2 separate regions of the Homo sapiens genome follow, and region 1 is linked to region 2. The links are contacts of gene promoters, found by promoter capture Hi-C in blood cells and fetal thymus (Javierre and others, 2016). All regions are on one chromosome and are shown on one strand. The core of a region is centred on a gene start or on the middle of the fragment in contact, and the rest is flanking DNA. Distances in the headings are between cores, read along the strand shown. Region 1 has its middle 19 kb from the start of GPR45. Region 2 holds the start of MRPS9-AS1 (MRPS9 antisense RNA 1).

The links. The method cuts DNA at HindIII sites, captures the fragments that hold promoters and counts their contacts. A CHiCAGO score of 5 or more calls a contact.
Region 1: a fragment that was not itself captured here is called in contact with the fragment with the promoter of MRPS9-AS1 in region 2 in 11 of 17 cell types (total B cells, naive B cells, M2 macrophages and 8 more); the score reaches 9.7 in total B cells.

Annotation. Positions count from the first base shown.
Region 1 is chr2:105,221,794-105,224,674 of GRCh38, reverse strand. No RefSeq gene overlaps it. Among named protein-coding and RNA genes, the nearest start is that of GPR45, 19 kb to the left of the region's middle. The HindIII fragment of the contact is 3,786 bases long and covers 1-2,881 here.
Region 2 is chr2:105,101,407-105,104,273 of GRCh38, reverse strand. It overlaps MRPS9-AS1 (MRPS9 antisense RNA 1), which reads left to right and starts at 1,330. Exons shown (of 4, transcript NR_110227.1): 1 at 1,330-1,438. It overlaps LOC105373527 (a long non-coding RNA gene), which reads right to left and starts at 2,517. Exons shown (of 3, transcript XR_923138.3): 1 at 1-2,517. RefSeq lists an enhancer at 1-774. The HindIII fragment of the contact is 13,539 bases long and covers 1-2,867 here.

The DNA of each region.
Region 1 (2,881 bases), core at 41-2,540, 120 kb before region 2:
TCTGGACAGCCAGGGGTGAGAACCTGTGACACAGGATATCATGCGGTGAAGGGCGAAGCCTTGGAAGAAAAGAGCGGACTTAGCAGTTACGGAGAGAGGAGATTCAGGGCAGTGGGGAGGGGCTAGAGAGAGCATCTTAGCTTGATGTTCTGACATTTGAGGCTTTACTGGTCCTAGAAGGAGTGCCCTTCCCAGGGCTAGCCAATTCTTAGCGATAGCAAACACAGGATGCACCCATGGGTGTGCCTTTCTTTTTCTTTATTTTTTCTTTTTCTTTTTTTCTTGTTTTTGAGACGGAGTTTCGCTCTTGTTGCCCAGGCTGGAATGTAATGGCACAATCTTGGATCACTGCAACGTCGGCCTCCCGGGCTCAAGGATTCTTCTTCCTCAGCCTTCCGAGTAGCTGGGATTACTGGCGCGCACCACCACGCCCAGCTATTTTTTTTTTTTGTATTTTGAGTAAAGACAGGATTTCACCATGTTGACCAGGCTGGTCTCCAACTCCTGACCTCAGGTGATCCACCCGCCTCGTCCTCCCAAAGTGCTGGGATTACAGGCGTGAGCCACCGCGCCCGGCCGGTGTGCCTTTCATCTGCCAACCAAACAATCCAGCGCCCACACTCCAAGCACCTCCGCTGTAGGGCTCTCACGCTCCCGGCCACTATCCTCTGCCCCAATCACTCCAGGGCAGATACCAGACAACCTAGGGCGTATGCGCCCGAGCTCACAGAAATTCAAACTAGCCTATCCTTGGCCTGCCTCGCCTTTCTCAAGGAAACCACAATGAAGGCTCCTGCCATGTTTTGCCCCTTCCCCGCTTCCCCGGATTGGCCCTGGTGCTCTCCCGTGTGGCCCTGTGTGGCGTGGCATGCCCCCTTGTTTTGGGAACTGTGAACAATAAACTCTTTTCAATGGCAGTCATTCCCTGATCTGTCAGCCTCACCATACCTGAATAATAATAAAACCTGCATTTTAAAACAGGGAGATGTAAGCCGAGGTGGAAGAGGAGACGTCAAAAAGTAAAGTATTTTTGAAAGGTGGAGGGTGTGGGTGGGAGAAATGCAGCAGGCTGGCTAGGCGCAGAGGGTCAAGGGAAGGTTTTGTGTTTTCTAAAGTCATAATACCTGTTTCACAGGGATATCGAAGACTTGGATTTACATTTACATTAAACAAAAAACAAACAAACAAAAAAAACACAACAAGACTTCATTAAAAGAGATCTTACCCTGCCAGGAATGTGTTCACCCTGCCACCCGGCTGTGGTTTCCATGGGCTGCATGGGGCAGGGACGTGGAAGAGGAGAGTCTGAGACAAGGGCAGGGGCCCAGCTCACTGTGCGGGAGCTTTGGAAATGATAACCAGAAAGCATAAAGCGTACCCTTGCCTTGACCCACCAAGATTAATGAGAATATTGTGGTGTAAGCACATTATTTCCTGAACAAAAGTTTTTTTTTAACTTAAAAAAACTGTGGTAAAAGGCATATAAGATAAAATTTAGTGCATTACCCACCTGTAAGTGTACAGTCCAGTAGTAAGTACATCCACACTGGTGCGCAAACAATCTCCAGAGCTTTTTCATCTTGCAAAACAGAAATTGTACCCATTAAACTCGAATTCCCTATTCTGCCCTCCTCCAGCCCCTAGTAACCACCAGTCTACTTTGTTTCCATGAATTTGACTACTCTAAGTCTCTCATATAAGCACATTCTTTTCTCTTAGCACATATTTATATTCTGGTAGCAGAGGGCTGGGAGGGGGAAGGGAAGCATAAGAGGAGGGAGGACACATGATGGTAAATCTGAATGAAGCTGATGATGGTATTAGCCACGGTTTGCTGAGAGCCTCATCTAGGCCAAATATTAGCATAATAGACTGTCAAATTTTAACTTTTACCACAAACCCAGAGGTAGGGGTTATTTCTACTTAGAGATTGCATAGCTCGTCTGCCCAGGATGGCAGGGTGGCTATGGGGCAGTCCTTGAAGGTCTAACTCTAATACTGTTCCATCCTTTCATTCCTGGGCTGGGGTGGGGGCCGGAGGGACATCTAGAATGTGACAGTGCCTCTCTGCCCTGGCGTACTGTCATGGTGCAGCATAGCTATTCAGGAGGCATCTGCCTGAATCTTTGAGGGGTGGGATCTGGTGTGGGTGTCTGCTGTAGAGTACAGCCACCAACCTGTCTTGGGGCACATGGAGCCAAGGGCCGGAGCTAGAGAAATGCCTGCTTATGCTCAGTCAAGTTCTTGTTCAGGAGAAACTATGTAAATAGGAAGTTACATTTCAAAGAAATCCCATCAGACCAATAGTAATTACTGCTTGTAAATCAATTGTCAGTTATCGTGTTCAATAAATATGGTTCCTCCAAGCATCTGAAACAATTTGTTCATAATTGTTTAATTTACAAAACAAATATCATTTCTTTGTCACCTTAAATGAATTGACTTAGAAATTCCATTCTAGGAATTGGTTCTAGGAAAACAATTATTGACATTTACAAAGATTTAGCTACAGGGATGCTTTATGCCTATAAAAGAGAGAAGTTGCAAACTCATTCAAAATTCAATGACAGCAAGTTGGTTAGGAGGAGAGGTGATATAGCACTTAGGATAAATGTTAACTCTGCTCTTTGTGAGTCTTTATGAACCTGGGCCAGTTCCTTACCCTTGGTCCCTCATCTGAAAATGGGCATCTTGAGATTCCCTTTCTCAGCGTTATGGGGAAGAGCCCTGCGGTGGCTAGAATATGGTAAGCACTAGGTACAGGCTAGATTTTTAATCCTTCTGCCTGGCCATATAATGTCTAAAACAAAATTGTCTTAGGCACCAGAAACCACACTGTAGGCAAATATTCAATGGCATGGAAAGATGTTCATGAATAAAC
Region 2 (2,867 bases), core at 81-2,580:
TCTCTCCTTTCACAGACGGTTTTAGCACAGGCTGTGTGCCTGGCTTGCATGCCGTCATAGCCCGCCTGGTATTCTTCCACAGTGGTTCAGAGCACTGGCTCTGGAGCCGGGATTCTAGGTTCCAACCTGGCTTGGGCACTCACTAGCTCTAGGACTTTGGGCAAGTTATTGAACCTCTCTGAGCACTAATTTTCTCAATATCTACCTCATAGGGTTGGCTGAGAGGATCGAATGCGTTACTTGTATTTAGAACAGTATCTGGAACAGAATAGGAGCTACAGAAGCATTAGCTCTCACTGTCGCCTTAAGGCAATAATCTTGTCAAATGCCTATTAAAAAAAAATAGCCACTAGAGAGCTCTTCCCAATGTATGCACACAGTGTGTGTCAAAAATACTTCCCAACAGGTATTTCCCACAAAGGTGTGGGATGTCTGAGAAGCTCAGTGCTCCTGTGGTTAACAAACCTGGTGACAAAGGAGACTGTGTCAAGCCTGAACAAAGGAACAAGAGCTCCGATATACTTTAATCCTCTTCCCTGGAGGCCTCACATCAACACTGTCCACAGTCTAGTTCCTATTACAGCTGGAATGGAGCAGATGGCCGGTGGTTTTACACTTATCTTACTTGATCGTCACACAAGGGCAGATGGGGCTGGTAGGGCAGAAAATGACCCCAATTTGACTCAAAGAAATTGAGACTCAAGGGGTACAGTGGCCTGCGAGGTTACAAGCCAGTATTTCTTCCAGACCTCACGGGGAAAGGCACCTGTAACATTCGCCTCTCCTGGAGGCCGCTTCTTGGTCATCACTGACGTCCCTGACCGCTGTGCCTGGCTTGCTGTCTTCCTATCACCGCTCACCACCCCCTTTGCTGGCTCTTCCCTCCTTCCTACTTTAAACTTGATGGCTGTTTCTCCACTTGAGCCTTGGCCTTCTCCCTGCCCAATCCTCCGTGCTGATCCAGCCCACGTTTCAAATTCCCCTTCCACGCAGCAGCCTCCCAAATCTGTCAGCAGGCTGACCCGTCGCCTGAGTCACAGTCCAATTATTTCAAGCATCTCATATGAGGTGGCCCCGAACACCTGAAACCCGAGCCGACCCCTCTGGTGTCTCCTCCTCCTCCCATCAACTTTTCTTCCTGTCTTCCTGGCTCTTTGCATTCCCAGCAGCCTGTGGATCTCATACCGAATACCCGCCCCCAGCTCTCCTGCAGCCAATCAGCTATCGCACTTGGTCCAGGTGAGAGTGGCAACGTTTCTCACACCTACTTCCTTTCTGTTCCCTGCACTGGGTCCCATCCCCTCCATGTACAATAGCTGCCTGGCAGGTCTCTTCCTTCTAGCAACTCCCTGCTCCTGCAGTCCCTCCGTGACCTTCCTGATGGGGAGATCCTCAAGACTTTTCCCATGAGCTCGGGGTTCCTGAGGCCCAGAAGAAGGTGAGAGTTAAGGCTCCGATTTTGTTGTTATATTATGCACTATGACTCTACTTAATATATATATACATATATTTTAAAGGTTGCTAAAATATAGTTTAAAAACACAGTTCTAATTTCAACCCTCATCTGTTCTCTCAAAGGAGAAAAAAAGGCTGATTCCCCTTTGGCAGTGCAGGAACATCACCATGAATTTCAGACCCTCCACAAATCCACCTCAGCCTCCTTCCCAGCTGGTTTCCGCAGGGACCTCGTCCCTCCCCAGCAATGCCCTGGCCCGCCTGGCTTCACTCCCTGCACATTTCCTGAACTTTCCTTCCTCCTTTCTCGCCATTTTCTCCATCTGTACTCCCACCCTCTCCTTTCATGGCCTCTTTTTTCCCCACCACCTCCTCCTCAGAGTGCTACTGTCCTCAGGGCCCCCTTCCTCAGCTCTCCTCCTGGCACTGTACGAGCAGCACTCCAGGTCTCCCGTTAGACTTGAGGACTTTGTCTCCTCCACGATACCAACAGTAGCTGATGCAGGGCCAGATGGCATATACTTCAGGCAGCTCTGCACTGCCCCAGGACACCAGGTATGGCAAGAGCTCAGCAAGCGGGCGATCCGTGCCGGCAGGGCTGCCCGCCATCCCATCTCAGCACACCCACGCCACGTGGGGTAACCACTTGTCACTTCTCTCTTGTCAAAATGGTAAAAAGTATACTCCAACAGATACAGGCTAAATCAACACCACCGACCAAAACCTGCCACAGACAATTTCACTAGAGAATGACCGCCACACAGAAAAAACCCCAGAAAGTATTTTCTACAGTTTCATCTGAAATGAAAAGGGCACTGGGTACCGCAGGGTACTGGGTACTCACTCTCACTTGTTCATCACCATGTTATTTTATTTTACCTCATAAAGGATTTGATGTGTATATACATGTCTCAGAACTTATTCAAGATTATTTTAAAAAGACACTTATGAAGAAATCAGTGGCATACAACTCTTTATATAAAGGATAATTGAGCATTGAGGGTCTAATTCTTGAAGCAATATTTTTACTTAAAATAACTGCATTGAAATGGATTTTTTTTTTTTTTTTTTGAGACAGGATCTGACTGTTACCCAGGCTGGAGTGCAGTGGCACAATCTCGACTTACTGCAGCCTCTGCCTCCTGGGTTCCAGCGATTCTCCCACCTCAGCCTCCCGAGTAGCTGGCACTATTGGCGCATGCCACCACACCCGGCTAATTTTTGTATTTTTTGGTAGAGATGGGGTTTCACCATGTTGGCCAGGCTGGTCTCAAACTCCTGGCCTCAAGTGATCCACCTGCCTCAGCCTCCCAAAGTGCTGGGATTACAGGCGTGAGCCACCACACCTGGCTTAAAATGGGTTTTAAAGTACCCCTGTTACCAACTGCCCCTTTCCTCCCTCAAAAACCTAC